Regions from separate parts of the Homo sapiens genome. Here regions 1, 2 and 4 are each linked to region 3. The links are contacts of gene promoters, found by promoter capture Hi-C in blood cells and fetal thymus (Javierre and others, 2016). All regions are on one chromosome and are shown on one strand. The core of a region is centred on a gene start or on the middle of the fragment in contact, and the rest is flanking DNA. Distances in the headings are between cores, read along the strand shown. Region 1 overlaps NOTO (notochord homeobox). Region 2 overlaps CCT7 (chaperonin containing TCP1 subunit 7). Region 3 holds the start of SPR (sepiapterin reductase). Region 4 has its middle 13 kb from the start of NOTO.

Region 1 (2,700 bases), core at 13-2,512, 320 kb after region 3:
GTTCCCTGCCCTGCAGACCTGCTCTTCTCTGTCCCCATCAGGTGGGCCTCTCTCTCTTTGAGCCTCAGCTTTAATGCTGGCTCCTTAGGGAGGCCTCCTCTGCCCAAACCCCTGTTTGTACCCCCTTTTGTGTTTACATAGCTCTTTGTTTGTTTACATGTTTCTTGCCAGTGTTTCTTCACTAGCTCATGAGCTCCACGAGGGCAGGCAGCTTGCCTCTGTTGCTCACCACTGTATCAGCATCACCTAGGATGGTGCTTAGCACATACTGGAAACTCAGTAAATACTCAGATGAATGAATGGTGTCTGGAATTGTAGAAAGGGGTGTTTTGGAGGAGGTACCTCCCTGAGAAGGAAGAGCAAATATTGGCCAGGCAGAGAGGGGTGTTCACTCCAGGAATTAGGAAGCAGTGGGACCTGATGGTCACATTCTGATCTCTGCCCACTCTCCAATTATAGGTGAGAGTCTGGTTCCAGAACCGCAGGGTCAAGTATCAGAAGCAGCAAAAGCTGAGGGCAGCAGTTACATCTGCCGAGGCTGCCTCCCTGGATGAGCCTTCCAGCAGCTCCATCGCCAGTATCCAGAGTGATGATGCCGAGTCAGGAGTGGACGGCTGAAGACTGGGACAGAGGCCCTAGCCAGGCTGCCTGGACTAGTTCCTCCTGGGGGTACCCACTGGAGCTCCCTGCCTCACACCTCAACGAAAAGCCTCCTCAACCAGAAGAATCTGAGCTGTCAAGCAGGGACCCCCTTTTCTATACTGATTCCTGGAAACTGGAATAATGTAATGATTGGAGGCACAGACTCTGGCCTTCAGCTATGTCCTTGGCCAACCTATGGAACTTCCGAGCCTTTTTTCTTTATCTGTATAATGGGTGCATTCATAACTTAGATCACCCAGGGGTGAGAAGATGTCTGTAAAGCAATAATGTGCCATGCACAGTGCAAAGTGTGTGGTTACTGTTAAGGCTTGTAGGCCCCTGAGTAGAGAAGACCAACTGGAAAAAAAAAAGTTTTTTTCTTCTGCTGTCACCCCACAACAATCAACACAGAACACTTCTGTGACCAAACGTATAGGGGTGTACCCCACATTCCAACCTCCAGTTCAGCAAATTCTGACATGATCTACCTGCAGGTAGTGTCTGACCCCACAGATTCAGGGCTCATTCCACATGGCAGCCCCTCCTTTCTTTTTTTTTTGAGACAGACTGCAGTGGCGCGATCTTGGCTCACCGCCACCTCCGCCTCCCGGGTTCAAGCGATTCTCCTGCCTCAGCCTCCCGAGCAGCTGGGACTATAGGCGCATGCCACCATGCCTGGCTAATTTTTATATTTTTAGTAGAGACGGGGTTTCATCATATGGTCAGGCTGGTCTTGAACTGCTGACCTTGTGATCCACCCACCTCGGCCTCCCAAAGTGCTGGGATTACATGTGTGAGCCACCACCCGGCCCAACCCTGCCCTTTTTGTTTTTTATGGAGTCTTAAGGTCTACCAGTCATCAGTCAACTCATTAGCATATGAAAAGACATCACTTCAGAGATTCTAGGGATTTTAGGAGTTCTATGCCAGGAAATCGAGATGAAGACCAAATATATATTTCATAATATCACAGCTCCCCTCACCTGGGGGAGTAATACCTGTACCAGCAATTAATATTTTCCTGGCCTGGCTGTGGAGAAGGAACCTCTTTGAATAAGCATCTGGGCATAGAAGACTCTTCACCATCAGAAGGAGTTGAGAGCAAAGAAGAGAAGGTAGACTGTTTAGCCCACTTCACAAAGTTTCCCAACGTTTTCTTGTTTTGTCTGAACTGTTACCATTCTCAGAAGAAGCTCAGGCCCAGCAGCAAAGACAAGGACTCGCTCTGTCACCCAGACTGGAGTGCAGTGGTGCAATCATAGCTCACGGCAGCCTCAACCTCCTGGGCTCTAGTGATCCTCCCACCTTAGCCTCCTAAGCAGCTGGGACTACAGGCGCGTGACACCACGCCTGGCTAATTTTTAACATTTTTTGTAGAGACAACGTCCACTTGTTGCCCAGGCTGGTCTTGAATTCCAGGCTTCAAGTGGTTCTCCTGCCTTGGCCTCCCAAAGCCCCATCTTTTTATAGAATAATTTGTGTATGCCAAGGCTGGCATTTTGTCATAAACTCTGCTGTGTTTTCACAGGACAGTTATAATTTCCCCCTTTCATGACTCTGACTCATGGCTCCTTTTTCTTCTCAAGAATGTGCTCGATTTCTCTGAAAGAAGCCTGCTGCCAGGATTTGCAGAGCTGATTTCTGTAGCACAGACCATTCAGATTCTAGAATGGCTCTTGGGGACTGAGCTGAGGGATGGAAGGAAGCCTGCCCTGCCACCTGGTGGTGAGTGAGGGCACGGCCCCCAGCTGCTCTCGGGTAGGTTTGCCCCCAAGTACGTGGACTATTCGCTCCCTGACACCGGGCTGCAGGCTTGAGGGGACCCAGGGTCGGTTTCAAGAGCCTCTTCTCTGGCCCTGCCAACTATCTATCTCCCCCAAGTCCGTGGACTATTCGCTCCTTGACACCAGGTTGCAAGCTTGAGGAGAGGCAGGGTCAGTTTCAAGAACCTTTCTCTGTCCCTGCCAACTATCTATCTATCTATAATTATTTGATAGATAATTGTGGCTTGATCACGGCTCATTGCAGTCTAGACCTCCCCAGGTTCAGGTGATCCTC
Region 2 (2,727 bases), core at 138-2,637, 350 kb after region 3:
CTCTGAGGAATTGGTGGCCTGGTGGTGAGAAAGTGGTTTTGGTAGAAGATGGCAGAGTGACTATTTTAGATGGGGGTACACTTTGCAGGTTGAGGTGAGAAAAAGTATACACAAGCATTGGGTAAGTTAACCTGTTGAGGTGAAAGAACCTGTTGAAGGTGATAGGAAGTGATTGAGACTCATGTTAGTTTTTGATTTAAAGTGTAAGACTCCATCCGTGGCAGGGGTGGACCAGAGAAGACTTGGGGCTGCCATAAGGAATGATTTAGCAAGACTGGGAGATGGTAGGGCCTTTCAGGACACACATCTTTCCCTTACAGAAGGTGCCAGGGACTGGGCCAGCTGAAGAGCCAGAAAGAATGCTGGGAGTATAGAGAAGCCATTTCTTGCCACCAGACCTGGGACACTCCAGCAAAAGGAAGGAATTTTCCCTTCAGTTGACGCCTGATCCCAAATGTAGGGGTTTACATGACAAGCATTCTTTTTAAAATAAAAAATAAAAGGAGTAATGTATGATTATTTGACAAGCATTTAAAAAAATTTAATGAGGGCCTGGCATGGTGCCTCATGCCTGTAATCCTAGCACTTCAGAAGGCTGAGGCAGGAGGGTTGTTAGAGGCCAGGAGTTGGAGACCAGCCTGGGCAACATTTTTTAAATACAAATTTAAAAAATTAGCCAGGTGTGGTACCTCATGCATTGCGGTCCAGCTACTCAGGAGGCTTGAGCTTATAGTAAGCTATGATCTCACCACTGCACTCCAGCATGGGTGGTGGAGCAAGACCCTGTCTCTTAGAAATATATATTAAAAAATGAATAATATATTAAATTACTCCCACTCTCTTATTCCGTAGAGTTTATTGGGTATTTTTCGTTTTCTTTTTGTAGAGACAGGGTCTTGCCATGTTCCCCAGGCTGGTCTTGAACTCCATGAGCTCAAGTGATCCTCTTTTTTCTACAGTGGTTTTTGTTTTTTATGTAAATCACAGTATGCCATTCCTCTGCTGAAAGCTTCCCAGGGCTTTCCTTTTTAGGAATGAAATCTGAACTCCTCACCATAGTGTGTCTACGAGTGTGTATGTGATCTGGTTCCTGCCTGCCTCTTCAGCTTTATTCCAGTCTTCCTCTTGCTTACTACCCTCCAGCTGCGCTGGCCAAAAGAGTTGAACTTTTTAAGGAATTGACCAGTTAATAAGGAATCAGCCTCATGAGTGGCAAGACTCTGTCTTTGGCAGGAATTCCTCACTCCTCATTGTTAGGTTGGGAAAGCTCTGTGCTTTCCTGTGCCTTCCTTGCTCAGACATCCACGTACCTCTAAGGACTAGGTGATGGCTTTCAAACTTTTTATTGCATTCCACAGTAAGAAATACATTTTTAATCATAGCCTAGTAACAAATTTAACACAATAAAAGTTTTGAAATAGTATTTATCCTTACTACATTCTGTGTCACACACAAAATTAGCCAGAAACACTTGAGAAGACTGGATCTAGTTCGTGGGCTTATCTCTGAAGGCTCAGATTTGAATGTGGAGAGAAAGTAGTCTGGTTTGCTAAGCTGAGAAATTGCTCTCTCTGCTAATAATGGTGGTCACTAGAGCAAAGATATCTGAGCGGGCCCTTTAAAACAAGCAAGTATCCCTGTTTCTCAGTTTCTAAAGCAGGTCTGCAAATGAAGCCCTTACGGGGATAGGGAATGTTCTGGAGACCAATGCAATATAGAAAGAGGAAAACTTCTTTGGGGTATCTGATTGGAAATTAGTCACACAGAAGCTTTATTCAGCCAGCATGAGAGATGGAAACATTGCTGTATGAATTAGATTTGCCATCATTTTTCAAAACAGGGCAAAGGTGCTGTTTGTTTCTCTGCCTGTTTTCCTACACTGCAGCTGAACATCACTGTTACATAAAGCTGACTGCCTAGGCATCTCTAGGACAACACCTCAAGCTCTTGGCATCTTGCATTTTGCATCAGTGTCCCATCTGCTTCTCTAAGATTGAGCTGTAACACAGACAAGTGGATGTTTTGCTGCGGAATGAACACTTAGCAGGGTCTGCCTCTTCCTCCTGTGTTGTGACCCAATTCCTCAGCACAGGGAGTAAGGTCAGAAGTTGAAAAGGCCATGGTCATTCAGCTGGGTACTGGAGAACTCATGATTTTTTCTTTTAGATTAGGTCAGTGCTTCTCAAACCATTTTCCTGTCTAGCATACCTGCAGGGTAGGCTAAATTTGATAGTGTCTCTGGAGGTAGAGGCTGGTTGGGGAATGGATGTGGTAGACAGTTGGGGGAATGTGGTTTAAGAAGACCTCTAGATAATTCTGTTAAGGGAGAGATGGGAGCATTTTCCCCTTTCCCCTGCCAGTCTCATTATAATAGATGATTATTAAAAGCAGTTAATTTCTTTCTTTTCTAGCCCACACCAGTTATCCTATTGAAAGAGGGGACTGATAGCTCCCAAGGCATCCCCCAGCTTGTGAGTAACATCAGTGCCTGCCAGGTGATTGCTGAGGCTGTAAGAACTACCCTGGGTCCCCGTGGCATGGACAAGCTTATTGTAGATGGCAGAGGTAAGTCTACAGAGTTCCTCAGGCCTGTGTGCAGGAAAGGAGGCTCCTGAGGGGGTGTTTGGGACTAGCATAGGTTGGTATCAGAAATCCCACTGCTTTTAAGATCGTTGAAAGATGACTCACTCTGAAGCAGTTCCAATTCTTATATTGTCCTGACTGCTG
Region 3 (2,700 bases), core at 83-2,582:
GTGAATAGGTAAGTGAAAAGCAGGGCAACTTCAAATGGTATACACATATACAGAGTCTTATCAGCGTTAAAATACCAAAAGCTTAAAAAACAATTAGCCAGGCGTGGTGGTGCGCACCTGTAATCCTAGCTACTCAGGAGCCTGAGGTGGAAGGATTGCTTGAGCCCAAGAATTCAAGGCTGCAGTAAACTGTGATCACACCTCTGCACTTCAGTTTGGGCCACAGAGCGAGACTCTGTCAAAAAAAAGAAAAAAGAAAAGAAAAAAGCCTTCCTCCAAGTTGTTTCTTCCTTAGAGTTGGCAATAATAGTGGAAAGGCGGTAACTTTGCTGTTTAGCCCCAGGGGAGGGATCAGCCCTGTGGGGAATTGGGCTAAGTTATCAGAGGTTACTTACTGCCCTTGCTAAACTCTAAAGAGATTCGTTTTTTAAAAACTGACACACAATATTTGGACATATGTATATACACAATGGAATACCACTCGGCCACTAAGAAGGAAACCATGAAGAGATTCCTTTTTAATATATGTAGCTGCATGCCAACTTGTCTCACGTTCCTCCTCTCCTAGAAAAAAAAAAATGTGGATTTTTCTGAAGCACCTGCCTGGAGGTACAGACAGATGATTGCGCAAACTTGAAGCTGAAAGTGGATGGAATTGCTGCCAGGGAGACTGTAGCATGAGCAGGAGCAGAATCCTGGGGAACACACTTTTAGGGACAGGAGTCAGAAATCTCAGAGAAGCAGGGGTTACTGGTGGGATCACGGAGCTGCTCAGGGCCTAGTAAAAGGGAAAGGTTTTAATATCATTTGGAGCCACTGTGGTTCTCCCAGAGGAAGCTCCTGTCATCCAGAGAGCGGTGAGCTCCCAAACAAGCAGAGACTTCAATTCCTAAACAGGCATAAGCTTCATTCAGGGTGTTCACTGGCCACGACCAGGGACGCCCAGCACCCAGTGCAGGGCCTGCCCTGGAAGAGGTCAGTAGTGCAAAGTTAGGGCTGGAACTGGGAGGAAATTCGAGCATGCGTCCCAGCCGGAGGCTGAGCTTGCGGGCGAAGAACACGGCAGCGCTGGGAACCGGGCTAGGGCTTTCCGTGTGGGCCGCGCCTGCCGGCCCTCTCTGTTGTCCCACTTGGCACGGACTGGGCTACCGCCACGGTTTGACTTCCGCCACCAGCAACCAAGGGAACCAGATCCCAAGGGAACCAGCACCCCTGGGCGCTCGCGGCCCGAAGCCTGAGGTTCCCGCCCCGCCCCGGCAGGGCGGCCCCGCCGACACCCGTAGCGGTCCCGCCCCCCGCGGCCGCACCGCCTCCTGCCTGGTCTCGGGTGCCAGCGCCGCCGGCGGAGAACAGGAGCATGGAGGGCGGGCTGGGGCGTGCTGTGTGCTTGCTGACCGGGGCCTCCCGCGGCTTCGGCCGGACGCTGGCCCCGCTCCTGGCCTCGCTGCTGTCGCCCGGCTCCGTGCTTGTCCTTAGCGCCCGCAACGACGAGGCACTGCGCCAGCTGGAGGCCGAGCTGGGCGCCGAGCGGTCTGGCCTGCGCGTGGTGCGGGTGCCCGCCGACCTGGGCGCCGAGGCCGGCTTGCAGCAGCTGCTCGGCGCCCTGCGCGAGCTCCCCCGGCCCAAGGGGCTGCAGCGACTGCTGCTTATCAACAACGCGGGTAAGACCCCGGGGCTGGAGCGGACTCCCCATGTGAGCGCCCACTTCCTCCACCGCTGGGGAATTTAAGGGCTACTCCTAGGGGTCAGATAGGACGCCTAGAAATCTAAAGCCCTAGTTGTTCCAGCTTGAGTAGCAAGTGGAGGCGAGGTGTACAGGAAGACTCGGTGCCGTCGGGACAACAGTCTGCCCCCACTTCCTGGAAAATTGGCCAGCCGGGTTTTCCAAAGCGCCTGTAGAACTTTCCCGAGCCCCTTGCTCTGCGCCCTCTGGCGGAGGCCTGAGTCAGGGCTTGGAGTCTCCAAACAAGTAAACTCTCTGCTTCTCCAAAGGACCGCTAGAGCTTTCCTTCAGCCCCACGGCAAGGCAGGTGCCTTCTCATTCTGCAGCTTGGGATGGCTAGGTTCCCCAGCTGTGTCTTTCCGCAGAGCTGGGGAAGAGAGAAGCCTCTTCAGAAGCGCTAGGCAGCTTCCTCCTCTAGGTCTGCATGGGAAGAGGATATCTGGAGGAACTTGGGAGGGCTGGGGAAGAAGAAAGCCCCGCCTGCACTGAGTTACTCCTAAGGGTTGGTTTTTCAGGCTCTCTTGGGGATGTGTCCAAAGGCTTCGTGGACCTGAGTGACTCCACTCAAGTGAACAACTACTGGGCACTGAACTTGACCTCCATGCTCTGCCTGACTTCCAGCGTCCTGAAGGCCTTCCCGGACAGTCCTGGCCTCAACAGAACCGTGGTTAACATCTCGTCCCTCTGTGCCCTGCAACCTTTCAAAGGCTGGGCGCTGTACTGTGCAGGAAAGGCTGCTCGTGATATGCTGTTCCAGGTCCTGGCGCTGGAGGAACCTAATGTGAGGGTGCTGAACTATGCCCCAGGTAGGTGGGAAGTCCTGCCGTCCCTGTCCTCCAGAACCCACTGGTGCGCCTCTGGGGGCTGGGCAAGCGGCCTAGTCCGCCCCCTCCAGGAAACAACCCACAGGATTTTGTCCTTGAATCTTGACCCATCACCCCTTAGGGGAAATACAGACCCAGGGGAAATAGAGGTGG
Region 4 (2,838 bases), core at 5-2,504, 300 kb after region 3:
AAGATAGGTGGTGATTTTTAAAGAAGAACTCATACCTTTGTTTGCCTCTCCTATGGGTATTGGAAGTTTGGTCAGTTATGAGTAGTTAAAATTAATTGGCCCCCACTGGGTGCAGTGCTGTAATCCCAGCACTTTGGTAGGCTGAGGAGAGCAGATCATTTGAGGTCCCAGGTTCAAGACCAGCCTGGCCAACATGGCGAAACTCTGCCCCTACTAAAAATACAAAAATTAGCTGGGCTTGGTGGCGGCACCTGTAATCCCAGCTACTCAGGAGGCTGAGGCAGGAGAATCGCTTGAACCTGCGACGTGGAGGTTACAGCAAGCCAGGATGGTGCCATTGTACTCCAGCCTGGGCGACAAAGCAAGATTCTGTTTCAAAAAGAAAGAAAGACAGAAAGAAAAAAAAAGGGCCCTTAAAAGGATTCTGTCTCTCTCTCTCACTCACTCACTCTCCTTCTATAACTCCATCTCCTGCTTACCCACAAAAGAAAAAAAATCCTCCCTCCTCTCTAAGGGCTATGAGCACAGAAGAAAAATCAATTCAATTCCATTTCAACCATTAAATAAACACTCTCATCGTATGATTTGAGTCAACAGAACTATTAGGTTGGTGCAAAAGTAACTGTGGTTAGACCGGACGTGGTGGCTCCTTTCTGTAATCCCAGGACTTTGGGAGGCCAAAGCAGGCGGATCACCTGAGGTCAGGAGTTCGAGACCACCCTGGCAAACATGGTGAAACCCTGTCTCTACTAGAAATACAAAAAAGCCAGGTGTGGTGGCACGCGTCTATAATCCCAGCTACTCAAGAGGCTGAGGCAGGAAAATTGCTTGAACTCAAGAGGCAGAGGTTGCAGTGAGCTGAGACTGGGCCACTGCACTCAAGCCTGAGTGACAGAGACTCAGTCTCAAAAAAAAAAAGTAATTGTGGTTTTTACCATTAGTTTCAATAGCAAAAACTGCAATCACTTGTGCACCAACCTAATGGGTTTGAATTCTGGCAGGTCACTAGTTGTAAAAGAAATCACATTACTGCCCAAGATCCAGTTTCCTCATCTGTAAAATGGGGATAACAGTATGATTGTGGGAATCAAAAAGAATGCACAGGTGTGCCCCTTGCAATGTGCTTATGCTATAACAGGGGTTCACTGGAGGACCATCCCTCTTTCTTTTCCCTTTTTTCAGAAACTAGAATGATAGGGGAGAGAGAGAATTCAACTCAACCAATATGTGCTAAGCACCGTGGAAGGTGTGACTAGCGGATAAAAAGATGAATACGGCACTGAAGTGGGTCTTGGGTTGTCACAGGGGTGTGCAGAGTGAGCTGGAAGTTCACAGTCCTGAACTGAGTTTTCTCTTGGGCAAGTCACTCCACACTTAGTGGGTCTTCAATGTCTTCCCTTTTCAGTACAAGAAAGGGCTGTCAGGGCAGGCACACAGTGGCTCATATCAAAAATCCCAACACTTTGGGAGGCTAGGTAAGAAGATTGCTTGAGGCCAGGAATTCGTGACCAGCCTGAGCAACATAGCAAAAGCCCATCTCTGCAAAAAAACAAAAAAAAAAAACATAAAAAATGAGCCAGGGCTGGGGCGGTGGCTCACACCTGTAATCCCAGCACTTTGGGAGGCTGAGGTGAGTGGATTACCTGAGGTTAGTAGTTTGAGGCCAGCTTGGCCAACATGGTGAAATCCCGTCTCTACTAAAAAAGCAAAAATTAGCCAGGTCTGATGGTGGGTGCCTGTAGTCCCAGCTACTTGGGAGGCCAAGGCAGGAGAGTTGTTTGAACCTGGGAGGCAGAGGTTGCAGTGAGCCAAGGTCGTGCCACTGCACTCCAGCCTGGGTGATGGAGTGAGACTCCATCTCAAAAAAAAAAACAAAAAACAAAAAAAAAGGCCGGGCATGGTGGCTCACGCCTGTAATCCCAGCACTTTGGGAGGCCAAGGCAGGCGGATCATGAGGTCTGAAGTTCGAGACCATGCTGGCCAACATGGTGAAACCCTGTCTCTACTAAAAATACAAAAAAAGAGCCAGGTGTGGTGGCACGCACCTGTAGTCCCAGCTACTCGGGAGGCTGAGGCAGGAGTATCGCTTGAACCCGGGAGGCAGAGGTTGCAGTGAGCCCAGATTGCACCACTGCACTCCAGCCTGGTAACAGAGCGAGACTCTGAGAAAGAAAGAGAGAAAGAGAGAAGGAGAGCAGGAGGGAGGGAAGGAAGGAAGGAAGGAAGGAAGGAAGGAAGGAAGGAAGGAAGGAAAAAAAAGAACGAAAGAAAGAAGGAAGGAAGGAAGGAAAGAAAGAAAGGGCTTTGACTAGTTTGCTGCTAAAGTCCCAACCAGCTGTATAAAGTGCTCCAAGTGAATAGAAAACATACTTATCTCACTGCACAAGGGTTATTTGCCCTGGCTGTCAACCTTCCTCTCTGACTAATCCTTCTTCTTCTGTCCTTGCTGTCCCTAAACATAGCAGTCCCCAAGGGATCCATACAAGCCCCTTTCTCTTTTACTACAGCATTTTCTCTCCGTGTGATCTCACCCACTCTCATCCCTTGATAGACTTCCCTCTCTTCAGATGCCTCTGCAGAGGAAAGTGTCCTCCACAGAGCCCTCCTGGACCTATGAAGTTATTACTTTATCTATTTATTTATTTATTTATTTATTTATTTATTTTTGAGACGGAGTCTCACCTGTGGCCCAGGCTGGAGTGCAATGGCACGATCTCGGCTCACTGCAACCTCCGCCTCCTGGGTTCAAGCAATTCTCCTGCCTCAGCCTCCTGAGTGGCTGGGATTACAGGCATGCACCACCATGCCTGGCTAATTTTGTATTTTTAGTAGAGACAG

What was found. Contacts are between HindIII fragments. The CHiCAGO score rates a contact against its expected background, and 5 or more counts as called.
Region 1: a contact is called between a fragment that was not itself captured here and the fragment with the promoter of SPR in region 3, in 9 of 17 cell types (endothelial precursors, megakaryocytes, monocytes and 6 more). The highest score is 11.2, in endothelial precursors.
Region 2: a contact is called between a fragment that was not itself captured here and the fragment with the promoter of SPR in region 3, in 1 of 17 cell types (endothelial precursors). The highest score is 5.1, in endothelial precursors.
Region 4: a contact is called between a fragment that was not itself captured here and the fragment with the promoter of SPR in region 3, in 4 of 17 cell types (fetal thymus, endothelial precursors, megakaryocytes and 1 more). The highest score is 9.8, in fetal thymus.

The regions. Positions count from the first base shown.
Region 1 is chr2:73,210,312-73,213,011 of GRCh38, forward strand. NOTO (notochord homeobox) reads left to right here. Exons shown (of 3, transcript NM_001134462.2): 3 at 460-2,202. The coding sequence ends at 618. Among named protein-coding and RNA genes, the nearest start is that of SMYD5, 2.6 kb to the right of the region's middle. RefSeq lists a silencer at 2,398-2,467. The HindIII fragment of the contact is 2,592 bases long and covers 1-2,558 here.
Region 2 is chr2:73,237,232-73,239,958 of GRCh38, forward strand. It overlaps CCT7 (chaperonin containing TCP1 subunit 7), which reads left to right. Exons shown (of 12, transcript NM_006429.4): 2 at 2,412-2,565. Among named protein-coding and RNA genes, the nearest start is that of CCT7, 4.3 kb to the left of the region's middle. The HindIII fragment of the contact is 760 bases long and covers 1,008-1,767 here.
Region 3 is chr2:72,886,076-72,888,775 of GRCh38, forward strand. SPR (sepiapterin reductase) reads left to right here and starts at 1,333. Exons shown (of 3, transcript NM_003124.5): 1 at 1,333-1,661; 2 at 2,239-2,529. The coding sequence starts at 1,358. RefSeq lists silencers at 1,185-1,574, 2,213-2,387. The HindIII fragment of the contact is 9,789 bases long and covers 903-2,700 here.
Region 4 is chr2:73,188,610-73,191,447 of GRCh38, forward strand. No RefSeq gene overlaps it. Among named protein-coding and RNA genes, the nearest start is that of NOTO, 13 kb to the right of the region's middle. The HindIII fragment of the contact is 4,620 bases long and covers 1-2,838 here.